Linked DNA regions of Homo sapiens: regions 1, 2 and 4 are each linked to region 3. Evidence: promoter capture Hi-C in 16 types of primary human blood cells and fetal thymus (Javierre and others, 2016). All regions are on one chromosome and are shown on one strand. The core of a region is centred on a gene start or on the middle of the fragment in contact, and the rest is flanking DNA. Distances in the headings are between cores, read along the strand shown.

The links. The method cuts DNA at HindIII sites, captures the fragments that hold promoters and counts their contacts. A CHiCAGO score of 5 or more calls a contact.
Region 1: a contact is called between a fragment that was not itself captured here and the fragment with the promoter of GLMN in region 3, in 1 of 17 cell types (endothelial precursors). The highest score is 5.6, in endothelial precursors.
Region 2: a contact is called between a fragment that was not itself captured here and the fragment with the promoter of GLMN in region 3, in 1 of 17 cell types (activated CD4 T cells). The highest score is 5.0, in activated CD4 T cells.
Region 4: a fragment that was not itself captured here is called in contact with the fragment with the promoter of GLMN in region 3 in 7 of 17 cell types (megakaryocytes, activated CD4 T cells, non-activated CD4 T cells and 4 more); the score reaches 11.1 in megakaryocytes.

The regions. Positions count from the first base shown.
Region 1 is chr1:91,521,553-91,525,538 of GRCh38, reverse strand. It overlaps CDC7 (cell division cycle 7), which reads right to left. Exons shown (of 12, transcript NM_003503.4): 12 at 1-1,498. The coding sequence ends at 1,104. The region is part of intron 4 of LOC102723436 (a long non-coding RNA gene); the gene reads left to right. Among named protein-coding and RNA genes, the nearest start is that of CDC7, 23 kb to the right of the region's middle. RefSeq lists an enhancer at 1,810-1,879. The HindIII fragment of the contact is 444 bases long and covers 1,342-1,785 here.
Region 2 is chr1:91,552,398-91,556,290 of GRCh38, reverse strand. The region is part of intron 3 of LOC102723436 (a long non-coding RNA gene); the gene reads left to right. Among named protein-coding and RNA genes, the nearest start is that of CDC7, 53 kb to the right of the region's middle. RefSeq lists an enhancer at 156-315. The HindIII fragment of the contact is 1,976 bases long and covers 1,426-3,401 here.
Region 3 is chr1:92,297,465-92,301,655 of GRCh38, reverse strand. It overlaps GLMN (glomulin, FKBP associated protein), which reads left to right and starts at 2,669. Exons shown (of 19, transcript NM_053274.3): 1 at 2,669-2,731; 2 at 3,627-3,695; 3 at 4,127-4,191. The coding sequence starts at 3,657. It overlaps RPAP2 (RNA polymerase II associated protein 2), which reads right to left and starts at 2,597. Exons shown (of 13, transcript NM_024813.3): 1 at 2,510-2,597; 2 at 1,417-1,462; 3 at 66-180. The coding sequence starts at 2,582. RefSeq lists enhancers at 2,184-2,413, 2,634-3,103, 2,675-3,571 and a silencer at 2,835-3,172. The HindIII fragment of the contact is 769 bases long and covers 2,377-3,145 here.
Region 4 is chr1:91,501,640-91,505,817 of GRCh38, reverse strand. It overlaps CDC7 (cell division cycle 7), which reads right to left. Exons shown (of 12, transcript NM_003503.4): 2 at 3,987-4,164. The coding sequence starts at 4,101. Among named protein-coding and RNA genes, the nearest start is that of CDC7, 2.9 kb to the right of the region's middle. RefSeq lists an enhancer at 4,126-4,178. The HindIII fragment of the contact is 1,953 bases long and covers 1,716-3,668 here.

The sequences.
Region 1 (3,986 bases), core at 314-2,813, 780 kb after region 3:
CTGACCACCCACCAGACTTTTTCCCATAGGAAGTTTGATATGCTGTCATTGATATATACCATTTCTGAATATAAACCTCTATCTTGGGTCCTTTTCTCTTTGCCTACTTCATTATCTGTCTTCCCAACCCACCTAAGACTTAGTCAAAACAGGATACAGAGATCTGGATGGCTCTACGCAGAGGAAAAATCTCCAATAATACCGTCAATTCTGTATTCACTTTTCCTTTCAGCAGCTACCTAATTATATCTAAGATGGTGTGAAAAAATATACAACTCAAAAAAGAAAAGCATTTGGACTATCAATCTTCACCTTGGTCCTGCAGCTTCCCTTTATCAACCAGTGTATGTATTATTTTAAATTCCCAACTGTAAACACGTACAATATTTAATAAAACATCCAGAAACTTTGTGGTCAGCACCATGTAATTTCCGAGGAGAATGTTTTAGGTAGGGGCAGAGAAGGAAGAAAATTGAGAAGCCAGTAAGAAAAAAATGGCAATTCACACCAGAATGCTTTCATGAAGTGTTTTTTAAAAATGGATGAATTCAATTTTAAGTGATACTTTGCCCCATGACCAACATTTCCTCATTGTTTTAGTGTTCATAAAAGGCCTAATATGTACCTCTAGAAAAGGAAATTATCTTCTTTATTTACAAAATTGTTAAGAGCACCAGCACCAGGTTGAGTTTCCCCAAACTATACCTAGCTCATAACTCTAAAAGAATCTACAAATTAAGTCTTTTGATTCATTTAATCCTCATCACATCTGTTAATTTTAATTAATTAAAACTAAAACTGCTCCTTTTTCTGTATATGTCAGTGAAAGGTAATTAGGGAAGCTAAAAATCTGACCTAATAGGAACCCACCTAAAATCTACTTAGGTAGGTTTAACTCAAAGAAGATCATGTTGTTAGTCCCAAGAACTATCCCAGGCATTTTAAGTATTCTTAATCTATATTTTAGAATGTGCCACCAAACACTAAAATGTTAAAATAAATTATTAATCCTGCTCTGGTCTCTAAACAAGAACTTGTGGCTATTACAAAGTATTCTTTTTTATTCTACCTCATAACAGTAAACATTAAATGAAGATCCATTATCACAAGCTCATATCTTTAAAAAATGGATGCAACAAAGCTTCTTCTGCTGTTATTCTTGAAGCTGGATTTAGATCTAGAAGTTTATCAAGCAGGTCATAAGCTTCATCAGGTACCTCATTCCAGCCTTCTAAATTGGTATTATACTCATCAAAACAATGCTCACAGCTATTACTATCCCCCTTTTTAAATGAATTCCCTGAGTATTGTCCTGGAGGTGTTTGAACGAGGCAAGAAGCTTTATGGTCAGTCTTCTCTGAAATAGCTGGTTGATGAGAAGCATGCCCTTGTATATCACTTGTTAACTTGGGAGTGCTAGAATCCATACCCCTGAGTCTCTCACAGAGTTTTCTCAAGTCTTGTGCTGGAACTTCTTTGCTACATAATATTGATTTCCCTAAAAGCAAAAGAAGAAAAAACAAAAACAGAAAAAAACATTTTATTATTTGAATATATCAGAAGCCTCTCTCATGAGAAACATGAAAGTTCAAACATATGCTTTATAGACATGGACACACACACACACACACACACACACACACAGTATGAGATAGAGCACCACATGCTATATTTAAGTTGTATTTGAATTGCATAGTGGGAGATAAAGTGGGAGATAGTAAGTACAAAGCAGTGACTTACTAAGCTATGCCAGGCACTCACTTGACTCTGCCAATTTCTCAAGCTTCATCTTACCCTTCTATAATCTTTAACTAGCTGCAGCTCCCACGCCCCCACTCTACTTCCTTTCCATGCTTCTATGTCTTTGACTACATGACTCCTGTCTTTGCCTAGGATGCCCTGCACCCCTTGTGTGCCCAGGACACTCTCACTGACATCACCACTCAGATCAAGAATCACCTCTGAGGCTTGACACCCTCAGAGAGAACTGATCAATTTCAGTTTCTACTGTATCTTGAGAGTTCTACTATTACTTTTGCTATCCTATATATGTCTGTCCCACCTAGTAGACTGAGCTCTTTGAAGGCAGGAACTGTCTTATTTATCTTTGAACCCCCCAAACCCAGCCTATGCCTGGTACAGATTAGGTAGTCAGTTAATGTCTGTTGGACTAGACAAAAAGGCATTATTCTTTTCAACAACTGTTCAAATGACACATACATCCTTAGAGATGCTGTTCTTGACCAACCTATCCTAAATAAGCCTCTTCCCTCCCCTTTTCCTTTTATCTCAGTACCACTCATTTCTCATAGTATTTATTTATGTTCTCTCCCTCACTAGAATTTAAGCTCTGTGAAAGCAGAGACTCGCAATAGTACTTGGCACACATAAAGCCCCAATAAATGTTTCTGAATGAACAAATAAACAAACTAGATCTGTTTTTAAAAATATAAATGTATTTGAAATAACTTCCTGATGGGTTTATTATCAGATGTGCAAAAAAAAGTTAATCACACAAATGGCAATCATGTATTATTTTTGCCTTACATTTCCTTATTAAACAGAAATATACTAAATGTACGAAACAACAAGTACCACAACATTTAGATGCCTTTCTGAGAATGTAGATTGTCAACAAAGTCATTAATCTGACTGTGGATGATAAAAAGTTACCTTTACATATTCTGAACTAACTACTGGACTGGTGTACTAAGCCAGGGAAAAAAATGGGGGAGGGAAAGGGAGGAAACAAACAATTACTGAAGACCAAATTCTTTGAGAGTACAATATGCCAATGCTTTTTTACTTTTAAACTGATTCTATCATTCCTATTCTCTCTAGAAAATTATAGCCAGGGGGGAATATTCATATAGTTTTATTCCTTTATTAGCTTGTTCTGAAGTCATAAAATAACTAATAGTATATGTTATAGCATGTCCCCAAGTTATACAATATGCTTTTTTTTATATGACCAAAAAGAGGGTTCATTTACAATATTCAGGAAAAATAACTTCAAGTAACACTATCAGTCAACATATTTTATTACAGACTACTATGTGTCAGGAATTTGTTTCAGCTCAAGACTTTTCTTTTTAATTTATTCAACACAATTCACTGAGTACTTAATGACAACCCACAATGGAGCCAGGTTTAAGGGTTGAGGACAGATAAGAGAAGTAAAGGTGCTCTCACTGCTAATCTCAGCCAAGTCATTTCTTTAGGTTACAAAGGGGAACACAGTTGTGTTTGTTGAAATTTTGAGGCTTTTATACTCAGTCCAAAGTTATAGTAAGATCAAGACTAAAATAACTACAGATGTCATACTAATACAACTGAGACAAGTCCTATGGCATTATTTTTATTATTTGTTTTTTTGAGACAGAGTCTTGCTCTGTCGTCAGGCTGGAGTGCAGTGGTGCAATCTTGGCTCACTGCAACCTCCATCTCCCAGGTTCAGCTGGTTCTCCTGCCTCAGCCTCCCGAGTAGCTGGGACTACAAGTGCATGCTACCATGCCCAACTAATTTTTGTGTTTTTAATAGAGATGGGGTTTCACCACGTTGGCCAGGATGGTCTCGGTCTCCTGACCTCATGATCTGCCCACCTAAGCCTCTCAAAGTGCTGGGATTACAGGTGTGAGTCACCACGGCTGGCCCTATTTTTTTTTTAATATGAGAAGTATTACAATGATAAATCTCTAAAAGCTCTTGCTTGCTATCATGGCACTTGATCTAGAGTATTTTTGGGTCAGATGTTGTATTTCCATTGTTGGCCCTGATTATAACTTGGATTACAATGGGGGAGATTCAAGCTCTTCAATAAAATATGTTGGTATTGGCTGATAAACTTCATGTTCATAAACCTCTCACGAAGTTATTCAATAGTAGATGAAAGTTTTCTCAGTTGAGAATAAACATACTTGTTATATTATTATGTAAGAATGCCATTTCTAAGATATCAATCTTGCTTTCCACTCATGGTCACTTT
Region 2 (3,893 bases), core at 1,164-3,663, 750 kb after region 3:
GTCTTATGGTTTGAGGCACGATCAGGGGCCTATTTCTGTGACACCTGAAGGCTTTACACTTGCTTCTTTTGCTTCTCACAGCAGCCTCATAGAGTGCAGTGAATTTTTTCAATATTTTCATTGGTCTTACAGTTTTGTCTTATAGATTTGCAACTTGTGACAACTTTTCCCACCTTCACATGGTTTGATGATTTCCCTTCACACCTACTACTAATGGTTACAATGCTCTGGATCACGCCTCGTGAATCATCGGTGTCTGTCCTCCCCTACCACAGCCAGGTGCTGACAGTAACAACTAGGTGCCGGCAGTATTTTAAAGATGGCAGTATGGCCTGGAGGACATGCCACAGGCCCTGAAAAGGAACCTTGAGTTGGACCCAAGAGCCAGTCCCCCAGAGGTCAGGTGCACCAGAGGTCAGGATCCCTCCCTTGCCTCACAGGGATACCCTGACCACTCTGCTCCCACTCCCCATCTCTCACTGAAGGATTCATGTCTGATATGTGTGGATGAGTTATCCTCCCACGGGTGATCCTGCCCCACCAAAATCAAAGTGACTCTTATTCTAAGAAGCAAAAATTTGACCTCACAAACACACTGCTGTTTCATCCGAGGAGCCTACCCCATCCCCTGAAATAATATTTTGCACAAAACTTTCAATTAATTTACTACAATGTCCAGCAAAGATCCAGCACTTTAAAGCCGGATGACTCAACAGGAAGAGCTTTCAGTTTTCTTCCTGATTGTAAGTTTGTAGCCTAAATTTTTGAGTAGGTACAATTTAGAGAAGGAAGGCTGCCTTCTGCTCAGGATAAACAGGAAATTTGCCTATACAGTCAGTGTGAAGAGCTGTGTAGTAGAATGATCTGCCGATATTTAGCTTCTATTATAGTGTTCTCCTCATTCTTCCTTCTCCATCTCCCCCTCCAGCTTCTCTTCTCTACTAAAAAAGGTGTCAGAAAGTCTGGGAATACAGACTGTCCTAAAGCACTGCAAGTAGTTCCCTCCTCCTGACGGCAATAGAGCCCCCTAGAGACCATCCGGGTGACCAGTATGAAGAAGTCGGTGGGTAGCCCTATTTGTTGGAAGTGAGAAATAATGAGAACTTTTTATGTTTCAAAGATGGAATAGGAAAAGTTGTCAGACCTGCAATGTAATAGTCCCAGGGGATGAAGAGTATACAGAAGTTTGGGGTCTATAGGGCTGGACGGCCTGATACAATCTGATGCCACCCCTCTGGATGACTGGATCTTTGCAGAAAGGTCACATAAGGGACTGAAAGTTAGTACTAAGAACTAACTTTCTGCAGTTCTGGGAACTTAAGCAAGGGGCCATCTTGGCCAAGCTGAACACAAGGTTGATCATTTTCCTGAAGAGACCTTGCTGTGGTTTGAATGCGTTCCCTACAAAATTCATGTGTTGAAGCTTAATCTCCATGTGATGGTACTGAGTGGTGGGGCCTTTTGGGAAGTGATTAAGTCAGGAGAGCTCCGCCCTCATGAATGGATTAGTGCCTTGTAAAAGAGTGTGAGGAACTAGTTTCGGTCCATGTTGCTCTTCCACTCTTCTCCCATGGGAAAACACACTGTTCCTCCCCTTCAGAGAATAAAGCAAGAAGGTGCCATCTTGGAACCAGACACTGAACCTGCCAGTGCCTTGATCTTGGACTCCCAGCCTCCAGAATTGTGAGAAAGAAATTTCTGTTGATAATAAACTACCCAGGCTCAGGCATTTTGTTACTGTAGCACAAACAGACTCAGATAGACCTTGAATAGCCTGTGCAAAGCCTTGAACTAACATCATCTGAAGGCTCAAGTGGGCACTTTCCACAGCCATGTGGCAATGATCAGCAACATTTCCCCCCCTGGAGTGTGAAAGTCAGGCTGACCCTTCTTTTTGAATTATGTAAACCTCTGGGATTTTGGAAAAGTTATGGGGAGACAGAGGGCCCCAAGACGGAGAGGCTAGACTTTCTGCTAATCCCACAGTCTGATAAACCATGGGAACTTAGGCTACTTGTTTTGTGTAAAGAAGCTAAATGTGACAGTATTTACCCCCTGGGTTTGTGGAGCAGTCCTGTTGATTACACTCAGGATACATGTATACATAAGCAATTGAAAATGAGGTTTCACCACCAGCCCAAAGTTGAAAGCTGGTGAAGGGGCTGATCCCCAGCCTCTGTCTTGATGGTTCTGGGATTCACTGAGTCAAAAACACACAGCAGAAGCCACTTGATAATGTATTTTATACTTATAACAAGAAGCAGAAATGATCACTCTCGGGGGAAACAATGCTAAAACAAAACAAAATAAGAGCTTGAGCTTTGAGACAAGGTTTGCCACAGTCATTCTGCATGTAAATAAATATTTCCCTACAACTTACTCTCTGCCATGCACTATGCTAACTACTAGGGAATAAAATGAAAAACAAAGCAGACATAGTCCTTGCTCTCTAGTATTAAGGTAAAGAAATACGTTAATCAAATAATCACTCAAATAAATAAATAACTGCAGTTAACATTGAAAACTAATTATCTATTTTCAGCCCAATTAATTTCCAGCTAAGAAACAAGACAGATCAGCCTCTATGTATAAAGCTCAAGATACAAAAGAGTTAAGCCCTACATGTGGCCCTGTTAAGGCTGTCCCAGGGGGAAAAGAGGGACCCATTCATTAGTCCCGGGGCAATGGGTTGGTTCTTCCTCTACTGTCATTTCAGAGAATGTGCATTCCCTCTGGCATCCTGGCTGGCCCGGAAGGTCACTGCAGGCTCAGGATGCCACAAATACAGGATTGTTCACTTTCTTTGGCTGGGGAACTGGGCTGGGGACCAAGCTGGCCCACAAATGCAGGTTTTCCCACTTTATTTCAAGGGCAGCCAACTTCAGGGCCTTAAAAACGGGCTAATGGCAACAATGAGAGTGATGGTGAGGGGAGCCAAAGTCAATGCCATCGACAGGCCATGTTGCCTTCAGAAAATTTCCCAATCTTTGAAATAACTACAGAGTGATTGCCAGAGTGACTCAGAGGGGAGGAGAGTTGGAGTGACTTTGGCTACTAAGGTTGTGTGTTGAAATAATAAAAGGAATTTCCTAGGGATCCCCAATCTAGTCTATTTTTTAACAGTGTAGTTTCAATTTCTTCCTATAATTCTTAGGCATACCTTGAATGAATAGAGAATTTTCTGTTAATTAACCAATTCAATACTGATTAATTCTAGTTCACTCTTTTAATAGACGTAAGATCTTAGGTTACAATTAATCCATCTTTCATTTCATCTAACCAACAAACATATTTAGTGCCTATTATATATCAGACTGTGCTACAGTCGAAGAGGGGCACCTAACCCAGACTGAAGAGGAGAATAACAGAGAAGGGTGGCTTCCTATAGCAGAGATAAAGCTTTGGGGGTCGCCAAATTTCATGCCATCTATCACTTCCCAAGCACATGGGAAACTACACTTCCCAGACACCCTTAGGAGTCCTTAGGTTGGGGCCACATGACTGGATATCCAATAGGATAGAGCAGAAATGATGTATGCTACTCTCAGGCCTGGCCATAAAATTCACTGTGCAACTGTCCATGTTCCCACTTTCTTTCCCTTCTGTTGTAACCTCTGAATCCAGATGGCAGCAATATAAGATGAAAACAATAAGGATCTCTAAGTCACTGCTTAGAGGAGAGCCACAGAAGGACTATGGGGCTTATTTGCTATAACCTAGCCTTGCTTACTCTAATATGTACTCTGTAAAGGTGGGGACATCTAAGTTTAGTACTGAAGAAGAAAATATCTAGGCTATGTCAGGTAAGATGACCAACTTTGATGATCTTATTCCAGCTAGATGGGGAAAATAAAACTATATCAAAAAATAGCCAGCTTACCAAGCAAAATATC
Region 3 (4,191 bases), core at 1,420-3,919:
TTCATGCTGCACAGATTTAAAGATGTTATACTACAAAACTAATAATTTGTCAACTTAACACATACACACTCCATTAGGAACTCTTCTGTAATATTCTCCTCTAAAAGCTGTTCAACAATATGTAGAGCTTTTCTCTCAAATTCAATCTTCTTTCTCACAGCTGCTTCTAGTTCAGCTTTCCTAAAATTTGAAAGAGAAACTTAATCTACTTAAAAGCTTCATGTCCAACATTCCATGTTTTAAAATACAATACTAACCTAACTCACTATTTTGCCACTTAAATTTAAATATATTTAAAAAATTTTTTGAATAAAAATATTTATTTCTTTTTAATTGTAGAGACAAGGTCTCACTATGTTGCTCAAACTGGTCTCGAGCTCCTGGCCTCAAGCAACACTCCCACCTCAGCCTCCCAAAGTGCTGGGATCACCGGCATAAGCCACCACATCCGGCCAAATTTCTGTTTTCTAATGCTGTTACTTTTGATCCAATACTTTTCAAAAAGGAAACAAGCTACTTTTTGCACTGCACATACATAAGTCTTTATATACTCTTTGTATGGTTAATGTCTACTTAGCACGCAGGTCTCAGCATAAGGCTTTCGCTGAAAACTCACAGCCAACCTCCCTGCCACCCACCTCCAACTAAATTAGACTTCGTTATTCCTTCTCGTAACATCACAGTCTTTTCCTTCATAGTGCTTATCACAATTTGTAATTATGTATTTGTTTATGTTAATTAACTAATTAATTTATTATTATTTATTCCTCTGTTCCACTAGGCAAGAACTGTGTCTATTCTGTTCACCATATCTTCAGAGCCTAACACAGGTCCGACATATCTTATACTCAATAAATAATTTTTGAAAGAATGAGTAAATTAAGACCAAAGCCAATATAAGATTAGTGAGTCTTCACAAAATAAAAATCATAGCTACATATGCTTTTAATCCCCTTCACATTCTACTCCTCTTCTAGAAACTCTGTGTGATATGTGGTAATATCTTGCCTTTTTAGAACCAGAACTAGTACAAGACAGCTTTTTAATGAAAATCTGGACTTGATGTAACAAAGAACAGAAAAGGTTTCTTGGAGTGACAGCGAAACTTGGAGAGTGAGTCTCTGGCATATAAAGCAATAAAAGGAGAGTGTACCTGAAGCGGTGAAAAACAAACACCTTCTACAGACACTCATTCCTTCACTAGCAGTCTGAGTGCTTAGTTTGGTTTTCTTAAAGCCTGGAGTAGAGGAATGTAACAGTCTATGTGAGAATTTATAGGCCTTCCCAGATCTTTCCCTTCCCTCTCATGATAATTTTCTCTAAAAAAAAAAAGGTAACCATTATTGTTTTAAAATTGGTACAAGTAATACAAGATAAGTAGATATGCCAATGTAGTTGTCCATGTAGCTGTCATACCTTTTAGAAGCATCTTCTTGTTTCAAAGTACTTGTCTGTTTAGTACCTACAATAAAAATACAGTCATGTGCTACATAATGACATTTCCGTAAACGACGGACAGCATACAGACAGCGGTCTCATAAGATTAAAATACTGTATTTTTACTGTACCTTTTCTATGTTTAGATATACAGTTGCCTACAGTACTTAGTACAGTAACATGCTGTGCAGGTTTGTAGCCTGGGAGCAATAGGCTGTACCATATAGCCTAGTGTGTAAGTAGGCTGTACCATCTAGGTTTGTGTAAGTGCACTCGATGATGGTCACACAAGGATGAAATCGACTAACAACTTATTTCTCAAAATGCATCCCCGCAGTTAAGCTACACATGGTGGCAGTAGGTCAGGTCTACACAAACACATTAGGTACAAGATAGATTCCTACACAAATAACAAACTGTAGACCACCTTTTCTTCTTTTCCACATATTTTATGTCCAATCGTGTGTAAATCAAAATGAAATAGGAAGGGAGAGCAATTTGTTTTTGCAAATTGATTACTGTCTAATTTTTCTTGGTTAAAATGTATCTCTTTGGGGATTGAATTTTCTTCTGTATCATAGTTGCTTAATTAACCACTCCTGAAAATCTGAGATCTGGGTACTTTTAGGGGAAACCTCTCTCCGTCTGCCAAACGTCCTCTCTGGGGGAAGAGGGGAGTCCGGCACCTTAAAGAACTGGGCACCCAAGCAATCTGGAAAGGAGGACCGGTCCTAGGTTCAAGGCCAGCTGCCAACGCTGCCCTAGTCACTTGCCCCGAAACCCGGGGACCCCAGGCCTGGGTTCCCGGGGCCTCCACTGTCCTTTGTCTCAGAGGCTGGGGCCACAGTCCGCGTGAGGGAAATCTTGGAACACTGGCGTAAAGGGGTGAGGGGCGGCCAGGAAATCTTTCCCAGGAGGTGCGGACGGCGGTGGGAAGCTTTCGGCCTACTCTACCTGGGAGAACCCCTCCCCTGAAGCAGCCTTTCAGGAGCGCCCGCGCGCTGCGGTCTATAACTCGAGATCGGGGCCCAGCTTTCAGGGTCCAAAAGTGGGAAGAGATCCTTGCTCCTACCTGCGGCTTTTCGAGAGCAGCGGGGAGCCCCGGCCTTGCGGCCGGCAGAAGACGGCCCAGCGAAGTCCGCCATGGGGGAGAGTAGTCTGCCGGACGGGGACACGCTCCGGCGTCTCGCCCCGAGGCCCCGCCTCCCTACGCGTAGCGCGGGGCGGGGCCAGAAGAGCGGGCTAAGACGCCGGAGGAGGTGGCGGCGGCTGGGAGAGGCGAGGGTTCTGGCCGGTAAGTGGAGTTGTGGAGAGGTTCAGGGTGGCCAGGGCTCGCGGTTGGCCGTGAGCCGCGGCGGACTTGGTGCTGCGGGCCGACTAGGCCACGCGAGGTGGTGGAGCCTGCCCACCTAGGCGAGCAGGAATCGGAAGACATGGCTTCCTCTGATGCAGCCCGCACGCGCGCTGGGGTGTTCACTCGCCTTCCAGCGCGCTGCCCTGAGGACCGGGCTGACTCGCGCCCCTACTGAGGGCTTGGGGCCGAGCCTTGCCGCCAGGAGAAGCGATGGTCTCCTCCTGAAGGCCGCCGTTGTCTTGTCTCCGTGTGATACAGTGATTTCACTAGCTGGATTGATCACTTTGGGGACTGCAACTCCTAGAGAGAAATGGAATGGAGGGCATCTGAATCTTCACCCCCTATAGATAAGCTTGTGTTGCACCCCAATTTTTGTGAGGTGAGACATTAAAAATGAAAAATCCCCTGATGATTAGAATTTTGATTTCAGGTCCACCTTTTGGAAATTTTTTTTCAGAAAAGAAGTGCTTTGCTTTTTAAAAGCCCTTTAGTTCGTATATGCCTCGCCTCTTGGGAGTGCTCGAGAGGTTTTTTTTGTTTTTTTTTCCTTCAAAGTAGCTTTCAAAACTATGCTCCTAGAAAACTTAAAACATGCAATAAGGGCTTCTAAAAAAACACTTTATTTTCTTAGGCAAACATACTAAGATTCAGTAATAACATTTCAACTTTAAAACTTTACATTTTCTCCTAGCATGCTATTGGACCAAAAAACACAACAACAAAAACTTTCCATTTTCTTTATTGTATTTACTAATAATTTATCACACTGAAACATAACTTTTGAATACTTAAGTGTAATATCACGGATAGTTAACAGTGTGTTTTGTATTTGTAGATTTTAGCATCGAAACTAGGAGAAATAAGAATGGCTGTAGAGGAACTTCAGTCTATAATAAAGAGATGTGTAAGTATTAATTTTTGTAAAATTAAATACCTTTCAAAATATGGGAAGGGCACAGATTGTTTTTAATTATATTTGTGGTCACTCAAATTGTTTATCTTCTTTAATCCTTGCTTTTTTTGACCTGTAAAGAGCATGAGTGGGGGAGGCAGATTGGATTATTTCTCCAGGTGACATACTTATCTAAATAACCTTTTACATTTTAATCCTGATCCTTTTCATAGATTTCACTGGTACAGTAGATTTCAAGGTCACTTATTAAAGTATTTATTAGGGTAATCCTAATTTTGATACGTGTGTTATTTACGTTACATTTATCTAGAATTTAAACAGATTTCCTTTTTTCATAGATAAATCAAGAAGTTATTGTATTTAATTTTTATTTGCATATACTTTTTTTTGTTTGTTTTTTGGGTTTTTTTTTTTTTTGCCAGCAAATCCTAGAAGAGCAAGACTTTAAAGAAGAGGATTTTGGCCTATTTCAGTTAGCTGGGCAAAG
Region 4 (4,178 bases), core at 1,443-3,942, 800 kb after region 3:
ATTAAGGTTTCCTGTCACTTCAGAACAACTTCAACAATTTTAAACAACAGTAAAACTTCCTGGCAACCAAAGTGAATGCAATATCCTCAAATTCTGAAGTGGGAAATGACAGCAGAAAGCAGAAAAGTGCATTCATGTCAAAAGCTGGAAAACAGTACTAAAGACAGACAAATGAAACAGACTTTGAGGACTGGAGGAGGATCCCGAAAATCTATAATATGCTAAAAATTATTTAAATGCCTCTATTTTATACATGAAGGTCTAGGCTTCTATTTTGACATTTTAAGTCACTTTTGTTTTCTGCTGCATAATATATCCAAGTTGGTTTTAATATACCAATAGTCTCCTTAACTACACTCCTTGCCAGCCTGGAGTCTATCTGTAACATAGTAGCCAGTCGGCTTGCAACATAGCAAACAGAGTTTAAACAGAGTATTCTGATAAAGCTAAGTCACCTTGTCACTATTGTGCTCAAAACCTCTAATGGTTTCACATCTCACTCCATTAGAAAGCCTCTTTACATCTCTCTTTGACTTCATTCCAATTACCTTCCCCATTCTAGCCACAATGACCTCCTTGCTATTCTTGAATGCTAGGCACACTCCCATCTCAGGGTCTTTGTACTTGCCGTTTCAGGGTCTTTGTACTTGCCGTTTCCTCTGTTTGGAATGCTCTTCCCCAAATATCTGCACAGGTCACTCCTTCACCACCTTGAAGTCTTAGCTCAAATGTTACAGAAGGCTATGAGCAACCATACTCACTAAAATTACAATCTCCTTCCCCAATACTTCCTATCTCCCCTTCCCTTTTACATTTTCTTAGTAACATTAATCACTTTTGAGCACAGTATTTACTTCTTTTGTTTACTCTCTGTCTATTGTCTAACTACCACAGTGTTAATTTCTGTTTTATGGTTTGATTTATCCCTAGCACCTAAAAAAGTACATGTATATAACAGACAATAAATATTCATCACATAAATGAAACGTTTTCAATATCTTGTCATGGATTAAAACTGACACTCTAGGCATATAGTCATGGTTATTCTGGGGCTTCATGTACTCTCTGGTTTATACCTCCTGGAACTAGGGGATAATACATAATATAAGCCCAAACTGGGACACTCTTGAGTGAAAAGGCAGCAGGAATAATAATTACATTGTGACAATAGCCGTAAGCTAGATCTGTCCCAGGCAAACAAAGATGGTACCCATAGCCCATTTTAGAAGCATGGCTAAGGGTGTCATTGTAGCAAACAGAATGAAGCAAGCCTTCCTTCCAGTAGAGTTCACCAGTATGGAGGAGACTTTCAATATAGAGTTTATACATCATTCTTTCACTGAACAGATCTTTCTCACTTATTAAAACTTGGCATATAGTAGATACTTAAAAAAAAATAAAAGCTTACTGGCCAGGCATGGTGGCTCACACCTGTAATCCCAGTGCATTGGGAGGCCAAGATAGGAGGGGATCACTTGAGGCCAGGAGTTTGAGACCAGCCTGGGCAACATAGCAAGATCCTGTTTCTAAAAAAAATATTTAAAATTAGCTGAGTGTAGCGGCACATGCCTGTAATCCAAGCTACTCAGGAGGCTGAGGGGGTAGGATTGCTTGAGTGCAGGAGTTAAGGCTGCAGTGAGCTGTAATTGCACCACTGCACTCCAGTGACAGTGGTGTGACAGAGAGACCATGTCTCAAAAAAAAAAAAAAAAGCTTGCCAAAACAGTGAAAGAATAAACATTTGACCAATATTATGCCAGATAGTTTGTGCATTACAGCATTTTTCTTAATAGGAAAAAATAGAAACAATCTATAGGGTCAATAGTAAAAGGTGATTGAATATATTATAATATAATATGCAATGGACCTTAAATCCAGTTGTAGAATATTTACTACATGAGCAATATTCAAGATATATATTAAAAAAAATGGAGATCAGAAATAAGATCCCATATTCTGGTTCTCTTTTCAAAAACAAAAACAAAACAAGATCCCAATTTAGTTTCTAAAAAATGTACCTATGTATGCCTAGAAAGGCTAAAGGAATATAACAAAATGTCAACAGTGGCAATATTTCAATAATGGGAAAAGACTTTATTTTGGCTTTCTTTACTTCAAAAATTTCAATAATCATGTTTATCAGAAAAATGTTATAAAAATCTGACAAATATCTCAAAATAAAGAGACATGCTATTCATCCATTACACTAAGTATTTTACTTTATATCCTTACATTAAATCATTCATTCAAATATTTTCAAGCACCTACTATGTGCTGGACACTGTTAAGCTCTGGGAATGCTAAGATATATAAAACATCCAATCAAAAATATAACTTCAATAAGGAGTAAAGTTGATGAGGTGCAGGCATATACCTGTCTCATGATCTAATTTGATTTACTTTCCCAATTAGATTACTAGACTGTTATGTGCCTGGACCTCATCAGCTTTGCTCCCTATTGAAGTTATGTTTATATAACTTTAGCTGTTATTAAGATCATATTTAAAAAAGAACCATAAGAGTAAAGTTTTAGCACGTTTTATAATTTATCATATTATAATGTCCAATGTTCTGTTACATAAACGCTACAAAACTTTTGAAATCCGTAATAAAATTCACCCCATTCATTACTTCCCAGCAGATTTTCAGAATATTAGAATAGTGGCATTCTCCTAAACATGATGCTAGAACCAATTCAGAGTCATCCATTCAGATACTCTGCTGAAGTCACAACATACTTTAGAAACCAGAGGAGATACTGCCGCCAAGGGGTTTACAGTGGAGACAAAATGCAGAGTCCTAAGCAATAGAAAAAGAATACTACAATGACTGTGTTACTGTGTTATGTGTCCAGTGACTAGTAAGGGAAAGATGAACTAAAAAAACAGCTAACTGCTGGAAAAATGGAAAGGAAGAGGAACAGTATCCATGAAACTGGATGAAAGTGGCATTTTAAGATTATTCTAGCACCAACATACAAGATGAACTGAAGAATGGAAAAGTGCAAGCAGGCAGCATAGGTGAGAAACTGTTGTAAATCAGGAACAAAGTGTAAGGAAATTAATTAATGTGGTGGAAATGGGAATGGAAAGAAGACACAATGCCATACTTACTAAAAAGAAATAAAGCTAGGTGACGATATGGGGAACAAATAAAAAGCATCAGCTGAAGATTAAAGTTTCAAGTTTAGGTAAGTGGGATAACTGACTTCCATCAAAGCAGAAAGTATGTGATGTCATATTTTTCTAGGGTGGGGTTATAAAGAATATATGGACAAAAGGTCAAAATAAGTATCTTTTAGACAAGCACAGAATTCACTTAAGACAAAGATGGGAAAGATGATCTGGCTACCCTTTCAGAAAAAAAAAAATACAGTCAACTAGAATTCCTCTATTTAACAAATATTTATTATTAACAAATACCTACTATGTCCCAGGTCCTGTGCCAGAGCAGAAATGAAGGTACACATGCGAGTGTACAAGAGCAGGCACTGCTTGACCCTGTCTTATTCACCCTAAGGTCTGGTTTACGGTCAAAGAACATTTCATGCTGTACACTGAGATATGGTGCTTTATTATTGCTACAAACATTTCATATTTTTTTGTCTGTGAGTTCTGCTTTTGAATACTTAAGTGATGATCTCCAGTGTCAATTTCTACATTTAAGCTTAAGGCAATGTGGTGAGTAGAGATAAGAACACAGATACAAAAGAGAAATTTAATTTGGGCATCATCAAATTTCTGCATTCTTAATTACCAATACTGAGACCATAGCAACTTCAACCGTAAAACAGGTTGTATTACAGTCTTCCAAATCGCAATTCAGTCCTACATTTAGATCATACGAAGCTCTGTTTTAACACTGTCCTATAGAAACATACAATTCACTTTATAAGATTCAATCTTATTTTTTGAGAGGAATTGAAAACACAGAATTGTTGCCTGAAAAATCTTTATAACTGTACATCTTTGGATTTAAACACGTACCTGCAAGTTTAAAATTCTGCTCGTTTTTTTTTAAAGAGCCTTCAGCCTGAAACCGGTCACGCTGGGGAGAAAAAGCCATTGGCTCATCCATCTGAATCCCCAAAGACGCCTCCATCACAAGCCAATTGAGATGCAAAATGCCAGCTAAGGGGTTACATCCACAGGGGGAGCAAAGCAGCTGTGAAAATTAGA